2 separate regions of the Homo sapiens genome follow, and region 1 is linked to region 2. The links are contacts of gene promoters, found by promoter capture Hi-C in human tissues and cell types (Jung and others, 2019). All regions are on one chromosome and are shown on one strand. Each heading gives the region's core, a stretch centred on a gene start or on the middle of the fragment in contact. The rest is flanking DNA. Distances are from core to core; before and after follow the strand shown. Region 1 holds the start of GMCL2 (germ cell-less 2, spermatogenesis associated). Region 2 holds the start of COL23A1 (collagen type XXIII alpha 1 chain).

Region 1 (5,884 bases), core at 1,031-3,530, 400 kb after region 2:
GATCTAGACCAGGAGTTGGCAAACTATGGCCCATAGCCCAAATTTTGCTTACTGCTTGATTTTATATGATCCCTGAACAAAGAATGGTTTTTACATTTTTAAATCATTGAAAAAAAAATCAGGCTGAGTGCAGTGGCTCACACCTATAATCCCAGCACTTTGGGAGGCTGAGGCAGGCAGATCACTTGAGGTCAGGAGTTCAAGACCAGCCTGGCCTTGAACATGGTGAAACCCCATCTCTACTAAAAATACAAAAAAATTAGCCAGGTGTGGTGGCATGTGCCTGTAATCCCAGCTACTTGGGAGGCTGAGGCAGAGGATCGCTTGAACCCAGAAGGCAGAGGTCGCAGTGAGCTGAGATCACAGTCTGGATGACAGAGCAAGACTCTGTATCAAAAATAAATAAATAAATAAACAAATAAATAAATAAATAATGAAAATAATAATATTTCATGACACATAAAAATTGTATGAAACTCAACTTTCAGCATCCATAAATTAACTTTGACATTCTGTCAATAGCAATCCCCCCAAATTATGGAAGTTGGTTTCATTTCTTGGTATGTACTTACCGACTTCATACCCTCGATTTTGCCTGTTGGCCCAAAGCATAAAGTATTTATTCTAGCCAGGCGCAGTGGCTCATTCCTGTAATCCCAGCAGTTTGGGAGGCCAAGGCAGGTGGATCACTTGAGGTCAGGAGTTCGAGACCAACCTGGCCAACATGATGAAACCCCATCTCTACAAAAAATTCAAAAAATTAGCCAGGCATGGTGGCACATGCCTGTAATCTCAGCTACTTGGGAAGCTGAGGCACAAGAATTGTCTGACCCTGGGAGGTAGAAGCTGCAGTGAGCCGAGATAGCGTCATTACACTCCAGCCTGGGCAACGAGAGTGAAACTCTGTCTCAAAAATAAAATAAAATAAATTAAAAATAAATAAATAAAATAGAGATCATAAGACTGACAAAACAGACTTTTTTTTTTTAGACAGAGTTTCGCTCTTGTTGCCCAGGCTGGAGTGCAATGGCATGATCTTGGCTCACTGCAACCTCTGGCCCCCGGGTTCAAGTAATTCTTCTGCCTCAGCCTCCTGAGTAGCTGGGAATACAGGCGCCCACCACCACATCCAGCTAATTTTTTGTATTTTTAGTAGAGATGGGGTTTCACTATGTTGGCCAGGCTGCTCTCAAACTCTTGACCTCTTGACCTCAGGTGATCCACCCACCTCAGCCTCCCAAAGTGCTGGGATTACAGGTGTGAGACACCGTGCCTGGCTCAAAACAGAATTTTTGTAGCAATAAGATGCCAAATTTCTACCTGACTCTGGTACATCACGTAACAGATAGCAGACCCTGAAGGGCATCAAAATATTTTACCCCAAAATATATTTATTTGACAATATTTTGAAATGGCCCTGCAAAGCTGTCTCCCATGGGGGAAATTTGCATCTGTAGAGAATTTCCATTAATGTAGCCAGGACTTTGTCAGATTTAGGAGAGATTCAATGAGAGTCTGAGACTTTTGAAGGTCTGAAAAGAGACATTCACTATCTATTCTGAGGGCTGCTACCTGGAGGCTTCATCTACGTAACAAGAACCTCAGCTTCCACAACCCCTTTCTTAACCCAAGCATTTCTTCCCACTGACTTCAACGCTTTTTTTTTTTTTTTTGAGATGGAATCTCGCTCTGTCGCCCAGGCTGGAGTGCAATGCAACCTCCACCTCCCTGGGTTCAAGCGATTCTCCTGCTTCAGCCTCCAGAGTAGCTGAGACTACAGATGTGTGCTACCACACCCAGTTAATTTTTGTACTATTAGTAGAGACAGGGTTTCACCATATTGGCCAGGCTGGTCTCGAACTCCTGACCTCGTGATCTGCCCTCCTTGGCCTCCAAACTGCTGGGATTACAGGCGTGAGCCACCATGCCTTCAACTCTTTATTTTATTTTATCTTACTATTTTTTTTGGAGATGGAGTTTCACTCTTGTTGCCCAGGCTGGAGTGCAATGGTGCGACCTCGGCTAACTGCAACATCCACCTCCCAGGTTCAGGCAATTATCCTGCCTCAGGCTCCAGAGTAGCTGGGATTACAGATGCATGCCACCACTCCCAGTTAATTTTTCTATTTCTAGTAGAGATGGGGTTTCACCATATTGGCCAGGCTGGTATTGAACTCCTGACCTCAAGTGATCCATCTGCCTTGGCCTCCCAAAGTGCTGGGATTACAGGTGTGAGCTACTGCAACTGGCCTGTTTTATTTTATTTTTGAGACAGGGTCTCATTCTGTCCCCCGAGTTGGAATGCAGTGTCACAGTCATGGCTCACCATAGGCTCGACCTCCTGGGCTTAAGTAATCCTCCCACCTTAGCCTCCCAAGTAGCTGGGACTACAGGTGCACATCACGATGCCCAATTAATTTTTAAAATTTTTTTGTAGACACCGGGTCTCACTACGCTGCCCAGGCTTGTTGAAAACTCCTGGGATCAAGCCATCCTCCTCGGCCTCTCAAAGTGCTGGGATTACAGATGTCAGTCATTGTACCCAGCCACTTCAACTCTTTAGACAAAGCTTAACTTTTTCAACCAATTGCCAATCAGAAAACCTTTGAATCACCTATGACCTGTAACTCCCCTGGAGTTGTCCTGCCCTTATAGGCTGAAGCAATGTGTACTTTACATGTATTGATTGATGTATTTGCTTGTAACCTCTGTCTCCCTAAAATGTATAAAACCAAACTATAACCCAACCATCTGAGGCACACTTTCTCAGGACCTCTTGAGACTGTACCCCAGGTCATGGTCACTCATATCAGCTGAGAATAAACTTCTTTTTTTTTTTTTTTTTTTGAGATGGAGTCTCGCTCTGTCACCCAGGCTGGAGTGCAGTGGCGCAAGCTCTGCCTCCCGGGTTCACGCCAGAGAATAAACTTCTTTAAACATTTTACAGAGCTTTTTTTTTTTTTTTTTTTTTTTTTTGGTCAACATAGACCATTCACCTGGCCCCTTAACTCCAACAGAAACTCCAGATTTGCCTTTGGAATCAGGAGGCTGAGCTTCCTGACTTCCCAACTCTGGGATTTAGAACAAGTCACTTTCCCTATTGAAACCTCTGTTTTCTTCATCTGGGAATGGGGCAGGCACTCACATAGGTTTGAGGAAGCCACAGGGCTGGTCACTCTTCACTTGTGTCCAGCGTCCCATCCACCTCCCTGGCATGACCTTGCCTCCCCCTGCAGCACTGGCCCATCTAGGGCTCCCCACACCTACATATCTGGCCCTGATGCCCCTCGCCAATCTCTGCCCCCACTGTACCAAAGATGGAGCCCCGCATGGCGACTCCTACATTGCTCTGGGGGCACAGACCTCCATCTGCCTGGAACAGCCTCCCACCTTCCTCATCAAGTCCTGTTTTCTTACAGGAAGACACCCACATGCCCCAGCCATCCCATCCCCAAGGACTGGCCAAGCAGTTCCAGCACACCCCTCGGGTGGTCTCAGTGTGTGCCCTTCTCCAGTTCCTCCGGGTCTGGGCCTGGGTCAGCCCTTTACACACACGGGGTTCCCAACAAGTAGCTTCCAGATGGCCTGGTGAGGCTGCAGGGCAAATTTCCAGGACCATGCCCCACTTCTCCACTCCATCCCCCAAGGACAAAAGCCTCCTCAATTCCGACATCCTAATCCTGCTGCCCCTGTCTCCACAGATCCTCCCCACAGAGAATCCCTGCCTATCCTGCCCAGGCCCTCTGCTTGCTTCTGCCTTCCCAGACCGGCTGCAGTGATCATTTCACCCAGCCATGGTCACTTTCACCATATTGGCCAGGCTGGTCTTGAACTCCTGACCTCGTGATCTGCCCACCTCGGCCTCCCAAAGTGCTGGGATTACAGGTGTGAGCAGCCACCGTACCTGGCTTGACTTCAAGTCTTTATTCTATTTTATTTTATCTTATTATTTTTTTCTGGAGACGGAATTTCGCTCTTGTCGCCCAGGCTGGAATGTAATGATGCGATCTTGGCTCACTGCAACTTCTGCCTCCTGGGTTCAAGCAGTTCTCCATTTCAGCCTCCCGAAAAGCTGGGATTACAGGCGTGCACCACCACACCTGGCTAAATTTTATATTATTAGTAGAGATGGGGTTTCACCATGTTGGCCAGGCCAGTCTCAAACTCCTGACCTCATGTGATCCACCCACCTTGGCCTCCCAAAGTGCTGGGATTATAGGCATGAGCCACCGAGCCTGGCCTATTTTATTTTATTATTTTATTTTATTTTTGTGCCTGGTCGCAAATTTACATTGGACTGGTTAGGCTCAAGCGTCTGGTACACACATTTTCCTTTGTCAGGTCTTGCAAATAAAACTTTGCTCCTAGGGAAGTGGTCCTTCTAAAACGGACCTTGGTTTTGGCTGCCAGATGAGAATTGCTTCCAGCAATGAAGAATGCTGTCCAAGGAGTTCAAGACCACCCGGAGAAACACAGTGAAACCTTGTCTCTAAAAGAAATTGTTTTAGGCCGGAGGCAGTGGCTCACGCCTGTAGTCCCAGCACTTTGGGAGGCCAAGGTAAGAGGATCACCTGAAGTCAGGAGTTTGAGACCAGCCTGGCCAACATGGGGAAACCCCGCCTCTACTAAAAATACAAAAATTACCCAGGTGTGGTGGCGGGCGCCTGTAATCCCAGCTACTCAGGAGGCTGAGGCAGGAGAATCACTTGAACCCGCGAGGCAGAGGTTGCAGTGAGCCGAGATCGCGCCACTGCACTCCAGCCTGGGCGACAGAGCAAGACTCCGTCTCAAAAAAAAAAAAAAAAAAAAATTGTGGGGGAGGGGTGCGGAGGTTGGAGGCGGCAGTGTCCGCTGCAACGGTTGGGGCTGCGCGTGAGAAGGTGGCGGTGTAGGCACCTGTGCTCGGGGAAGGCTGGCGGCGGCGGCCGGGCCATGGCCAGAGACCCCCTCCTCTGGGCTCCCTGAAGTCCTGGGGAGCCGTGACCCATGGGATCGTCGAGCAGCCGGGTGCTGGGCCAGCCGAGGCGAGCCCTTGCCCAGCAGGAACAGGGTGCCAGGGCCAGGGGCTCGGCCCGGAGGCCGGACACTGGAGACGATGCGGCGAGCTACGGCTTCTGTTACTGCCCGGGCAGTCACAAGCGCAAGCGGAGCAGCGGGGCCTGCCGCTACTGTGACCCGGACTCGCACAGGGAGGAGCATGAGGAGGAGGGGGACAAGCAGCAGCCGCTCCTCAACACCCCTGCAAGGAAAAAATTAAGGAGTACATCCAAATATATTTATCAAACATTATTTTTGAATGGTGAAAACAGTGACATTAAGATTTGTGCTCTAGGAGAAGAATGGCGATTACACAAAATATATTTATGTCAATCTGGCTACTTTTCTAGTATGTTCAGTGGTTCTTGGAAAGAATCCAGCATGAATATTATTGAACTGGAGATTCCTGACCAGAACATTGATGTAGACGCACTGCAGGTTGCGTTTGGTTCACTGTATCGAGATGATGTCTTGATAAAACCCAGTCGAGTTGTTGCCATTTTGGCAGCAGCTTGTATGCTGCAGCTGGATGGTTTAATACAGCAGTGTGGTGAGACAATGAAGGAAACAATTAATGTGAAAACTGTATGCGGTTATTACACATCAGTAGAGATCTATGGATTAGATTCTGTAAAGAAAAAGTGCCTTGAATGGCTTCTAAACAATTTGATGACTCACCAGAATGTTAAACTTTTTAAAGAACTCGGTATAAATGTCATGAAACAGCTCATTGGTTCCTCTAACTTATTTGTGATGCAAGTGGAGATGGATGTATACACCACTCTAAAAAAGTGGATGTTCCTTCAACTTGTGCCTTCTTGGAATGGATCTTTAAAACAGCTTTTGA
Region 2 (6,115 bases), core at 498-2,997:
GCTGGCCCCTCTGATCTCCACTTTGTGAAGTGGCTCTACATTCAGGCTGTCTTGAGTCACCCTCTCTGAGGATGCCATCTATTCTTCCAGGACCCTAATGGACACAAGTAAGTCATTTTCTTTTTCGCCTTTTAGAATGAGTTGCAGACAGTATTTCCATCTTAATTCAGCCGCCCCAATTCCCTGATTAATCTTGTGGGCCACCTTAAATTGGGCAGTCTGGGAAGATCTTTTAGAAGCAGTGAGGTTGAGGACCTTGACCTGGAGGATGAGGAGGGGCTTGCCGTTTAACGATCTGAGAGCAGGAATGCAGGTAGTGAGGTGGTAGGCAAGGGCAGAGGCCCAGGGGCCAGTGAGCTTGGCTTTTTCAATACACAGAAGCTTCAGGAACATGGCAAACAATACATGCAGTAACATTAACATAGGTAGGTGGTGTGCAGTTTATGTGCCTGTAAGAAATGTAGTGCTGACTTGTAAGAGGGTGTTGGCCTCTTTTCAGAATGAGGCCAACTTTTCATTCTATTGGGCATACACCAGACTTTAGCACAGAGCCAAGTCTATCAACCATAACCCCCGGCCATCTCAGGGGTTCCCCTCTGAATTAAGGGAAGGAGATGGAACATGTTAGCCAGAGGCACTCAACAGTTCTAAAAGGTGAGTATCCACAGAAATGAGACAACCAGAAGATATCCAGAGTGAGAGGGAAGATGGATATAACGTTATTTTTCTTAAAAAAAAATGGTTGGGGGGTTACTCAAATCACAAAGATCTGAACTGCTGGTTTGTTGTTTCATTTAGGTATTACAGGAGTTAGCGAAAGAGTTACTTGGGACCCATTTAGGACATGAATATGCCTGGTAGGAATCTGAACCCAGCCTGACTTCCAGCAGTTCTTCCCTTTCCTGCCAAGACTTGTTAGTGCCACTCATTCTGTTCTCTGGACCCAGGCTGTACGCCACAGCCTTCTTGCCTCAGCCCTGTGATTTAAATTTGCAGCAGAATCGCAGTACAGGTTAAGTGTGGTGCATACTAGATCATAATTTTTGGCCAAGTTGTGCGTCTAATACAGAATTAAGTCATCAGTTGAACAAGACTTGAAGTTCATTTTCTGAATCTTTCCCATTCGTTATAGTCTCAGTTTTCTCAAAAGCCCTCTCCAGGCCAGAAACAGTCTTACCATTTTTGTTTCCCGCACCGAAGTCCGGCAGCTAAGAACTCGTGAGAAGATTCTAAGGGGCGTATTTCTGTTTGGCGCAATCTCGACCCTGCCTCTCTAAATGTGAGTGCGCAGAGGTCGCTTTCCGCCACGAAGCGGCGCTAATCCACCACCGAGGACAGACCCACTCAGTTTTTTGCAGGATTTGAAGTTTTGAACTTTTACAAGTGTCAGAAAGGTAATTCACAAGTTTAGAGGAATGTGCTAAGGCACGAGTGGTGGGTGCTCCAGCCAGGGGTGGGCTGCAGAAGGGGCGCGGTGTCGCCGGGCTCCCCTCCGACCTCTGGGGTCCACAGTGCGGGCTTGGGCTGGGGAAGCCTCAGAGGTGCGTGCGGGGGCGGGTGCCGGCGCCCGGGCTAGGTGAGGGCAGAGGTGCGCGCTGCGCGTGGGATCAGCCCGGCGCCGACGGGTGGCTCCGAGGAGCTCGCTCCTTCCTCGCCCCCGCCCCCTCGCCGCGCGGGGCCAGCCCGGCCGCTCCTCCCCTGGGTGGGTCCCTGCTCCTTTTCTGGCAGGGTCTATTTGCATAGAGGAAACTGCCCAAAGTGGCCGCTGTGGAGGAGCTGGCTGCGGCGAAGGGGGCGTGCGCGGCGATCCGCTGCTACCCGGAGGCTAACCCCCGCGCCCGGCGGACCTCGTGCCTCGGGCTGTCCCGCCTGCTCCTCTCGCACCCAGCCTCTGCCCCAGCAGCACCGCCCCCTCGGAGAGTCCACGCGCGACGAACGCGCCATGGGCCCAGGCGAGCGCGCCGGTGGCGGCGGCGACGCGGGGAAGGGCAATGCGGCGGGCGGCGGCGGCGGAGGGCGCTCGGCGACGACGGCCGGGTCCCGGGCGGTGAGCGCGCTGTGCCTGCTGCTCTCCGTGGGCTCGGCGGCTGCCTGCCTGCTGCTGGGTGTCCAGGCGGCCGCGCTGCAGGGCCGGGTGGCGGCGCTCGAGGAGGAGCGGGAGCTGCTGCGGCGCGCGGGGCCGCCAGGCGCCCTGGACGCCTGGGCCGAGCCGCACCTGGAGCGCCTGCTGCGGGAGGTGAGCGTCTTGGCGCGTGGCTGGGGCGGACTTGGGTGTGTCGGGTTGAGGGTGGCGGTACGCTGGGAGCCGGGGGCAGCGTGCAGGTCTCTGGGAGGAGGGTCGCCCGCCGGCTGCGTGCGCTCGGGGCCGTCCCAGAGATGGGCACGTCTGCGCCAAGGCGGAGGCAGGGGGTGCCGGCCCCAAGGGGTTTTGCGGTCTCCGCTCCGGCCTCAGGGTCCCGTGCCAGGCAGGCGGCCGCGAGAAAGGGGAAGGAGAGACCAGGGACTTTGGAGTAACAGACCTAGGGTCAGTCTCCACGGGGTGTGCGCTCGGACACGCCGCTTCCCGCCGGCGGCCAGAGTCGGGGATAAAGATGAGGCTCGTGGGAAGTATCTGGTGACTGTGACCAGTAGCACCTACTGTTCCTAACCAACGCTGGTACACCTGGAGAGGCGGTGGTCACGGCGGAGGAAAGCCTCAGACAGGCCCGAGGGCTGGGCCCCGCTGTGCTCCAGTGTGTCTCCAGCAGCTCAGGCCCCAAGACTGAGCGGTCACCGTCGCACTGAGGCCTCGGGGATGGGGGTGGGGGCGCCCACATGACTTGGTAAGATGAGAGGAAGGAGAAACAATCGGGGGTGGAGGACCTGGATTCTGGTTTCAGGCGGTGCCATCTGGGGTGTGGGCTCGCAGGACATCCGGAGTTTCCCGTCCCTTACCTGGGAATCGCGACTTCCACAGCTTACTTGAAAGCTCATATGAGGCTCTGTGACACTTCTAAGGGTTAAGATTGCTGCTGTGTGTCTTCAAAGAAAGAGCCACCTTTGGGTCCTCCAAGCCCTCACCCAGCATGTTGGTCAAAGCCTCCGCCTTTTGTGTGCGGCATGTGCGGCAGTTCCCCTCCCCACGAAACTGGACAGGCCCTGGTGGGCTGGCCAGAGCCTCCCCTGCCGAGCCTTCCTCCTTCTCCTGGGATAGATGGCTGCTCCAGACCCCAAGGTCGCTGTCCAAGGGCGCATCCTCAATTGCTGTGTGAAAACAGGCAGGGTTTCAAGGTGGAGGAGAGGGAGCACTGGCCTGTACACCCCCAATTCCCTAGACTGCCCAGCTGGGATCTTTATTAACGTATCCAGCTGTGTTTCCAATGTTGAGTTCCTTTGGATTCCAAAGGAAAGTGGGAGAAGATGACTTGCGTACCACACCTCCTTGTTCACCCCACCTGTTTCTTAGTCACTTTAATTTAAGCTAGGATCACATCTCTTCTAGCTGGGTTCTGGGTAAAATTGCTGCTTCATGAAATGATTTCCTATTTTACCCTTGAAAGGGCCTGCAGACTTAAAACTCTCTCTCAGCCCTGCTGGAAACTCCTGGCGATGGTTTCATAATTGCCGCCCATTAGCTTTTGGCAAATGCCTGGAGACCAGGGTGTTGAATTGATTTATAGAGGGCCAGTAAAGTTTCTACCTGTTAGCGCTATAAGTGTGGCTGCTCTTTCTCATAGGAGGCCTCTCTTATTTGCTAAAAATAAACCGCAAGCCCTGATTGAGTAAATCAGAAGTCCTGATACAACCATTTTACAAGGAACTACAAATTGTGTCTATTTTAGGAGGGAGGGGCATCCTGGGCAGGCAGCCACTGCTGGGAAGTGTTGATTTTTGAGTCCTGAACTTCAGCGGGAGAGACTGCAGTTGCTCTCCCAGGCTTCCCCCCTCCCGGCTGCACTGAATTTTACCTGGGTGAACTACAGTGCTTGAACAATGAGTTATTGGACAGGGTGTGTGTTCTCTCTCTCTCTCTGTTCTTGATTAGAAAGGCAAGAGAAAAATTTAGAATCCAGGGAACCCTGTATTCTGGAGAATTTGCCGTGCCATTCACACGTGGTCCTGCTCGCTAATCCCAGCTGGGTATCTGAGGCGCATGCTGTGCGTGGAGTGTAAGCTGGCTGGGTTTTCCCGCCAGTGGAGAGTCAGAGATGGTGCAGTATGAATGCAGTTGGGGCTGAACTTCTGGTTGTTTGGGTGGCCCCTGTGAGACAGCTTCTCTCTCTTAGGGTACCAGCCTGTTTCTGCTAGGAGCTATTCTTCTTGTAAATGTCACTGGATGGGAAATGTACACAGCCTGGCCGGTAACAATGAGTTCCTTGGCTGGGAGGAGAGCACTGTGGGAGGCACATACAGGGAGTGAGTAATTAACTCTAATTAGATGTATAGATACTTTTTCAAGCCATTAGATATGAAAGCCAAATAAATATTGAACTCAAAATCTCGGAAGAAAAGAACATTTGTACTTGAAGCTGTTTTTCAGTTCTGATTTGTTCTCAGTGAAGCCTCTTTTCCGTGTATGTGAGTGTGCGGGCAGCTTGTCCTACAGCAAACTTGTTTCCAGAGAACCAGAGGCAGAAACCATGTCCACATTAAAGAAAAGACATCCTTGCCAACCATACATGGCTTTAATGTCAGGGGGAAAGAAGCCAACAAAAGCCACTGTGAATATGGGACCCACTCTCTTTGTTCCCTTGGGAACAGAACTGTGAAATAACTTTTTCTGGGACCGGCTGATGTGCCCGATAATGAAGATACAGAAGCTACAAGAAAGGAATATTCATGTCAACTCATGATCATTAAAGACCCTTCCCATGGCACACAAAGGAAGAGATAAACAAGATTTCTGAGTAAGAGCCATGAACGATCGTATCTTCACTATGATGTGAAAATATTCATGCAAAAAAATCTAATATTTTCCTCTTAAAGTGCTTTAAATAGGTTGCCTAAGTAATCAATCCCCCCATCTTATACCTATAGTTACAATGTTATAAAAGCTTAAAACTTTAGAATACATGGCTTTCATAATACAGTAAAAAATGTAATGCAAGGATTAAAGAAATATTTAGTTGTATTCAGAGGAGACCATGCCAGCTTACAATGGATTTATTGTTGGCTGTTGGCCTTCCATTGTCCAGACCAATCAGTTTGAAAACAAGAAAAGCCCAGAGACTCGAGTAAAGTTTACGCATTTTCCTTTTCTCTTATCAACTCTGTATATTGGTTAAATACTGTCAACCCAGAGTCAAATGGAGATTTTTCAGCCTCTTTGGTGGTTTGTCTACTTGTCAGGGCTGCTCTCTGCTGTCAGTTTTAATTAAGATGCCTATTTTTGAATTCCATGGCACAACTGGAGATGCAGTGTAAATCATAGCTACATTTGTTTCCTTGACATTTCCTGGCTCCCAAAACAACAAAAAAAAGTTTCCTTTCAATGACTTCTTGGCATGTTCACTTTCTCTCTCCACTCTTTTCTTGTCCTTTTTTTTTTTTCCTTGCAACAGTTTGGGAGAGCTTTATAATAATAGTAGCATGTTTAGAATGAGCCAAGGATTGGGGCGTTCCTTTCACAGACATATTTTGTCATTTTGGATTGGACTTTTCCACATCGGCTTTGAAAATTTGAGGCATGGCCCCTGAGGTTGGGGAATCTGTAAGCTGAATGAATTTATACCAGAGGCAGAGCAGAGCAGACCATGCCTGAGGTTTCCTATCAGCAGAAGAGAGTTTGAGGCCTGGTCCCACCATTTACCAGCTCTGTCATCCAACCTCTTCCACTGCCTCTCCTCTGATAGTGTGGTCACAGCTCCCATGTATGCAAATATGATAACAGACAGGAAAAGTACAGGATGGTAAATATGCTTTTGATGGGAAGTAACAGAATATCTGAGTGTCCTTTCTTAGCACACACTACAGGAGAAGCTTGGAAGACGGTCAGCGCATCCTGGGTCTGTCAGCGACTTGGCCACACCTGAGTACCACTCAGTCTCTGCCGTTCTCTTGTCCTTTCCTCATGGTCACAAGGTGGCTGCTGCAGCTGTGAACCTATGTCTTCACCCAAGAGTAGCCTGGGTAGAAG

The links. Contacts are between HindIII fragments. The study calls those that stand out against the background at their distance.
Region 1: a contact is called between a fragment that was not itself captured here and the fragment with the promoter of COL23A1 in region 2, in 1 of the 25 tissues and cell types used here (spleen).

The regions. Positions count from the first base shown.
Region 1 is chr5:178,186,402-178,192,285 of GRCh38, reverse strand. GMCL2 (germ cell-less 2, spermatogenesis associated) reads left to right here and starts at 4,915. Exons shown (of 1, transcript NM_001358008.2): 1 at 4,915-5,884. The coding sequence starts at 4,987. The HindIII fragment of the contact is 8,651 bases long and covers 1-5,884 here.
Region 2 is chr5:178,586,025-178,592,139 of GRCh38, reverse strand. It overlaps COL23A1 (collagen type XXIII alpha 1 chain), which reads left to right and starts at 1,747. Exons shown (of 29, transcript NM_173465.4): 1 at 1,747-2,236. The coding sequence starts at 1,943. RefSeq lists a silencer at 1,546-1,745 and an enhancer at 2,401-3,301. The HindIII fragment of the contact is 6,512 bases long and covers 1-5,496 here.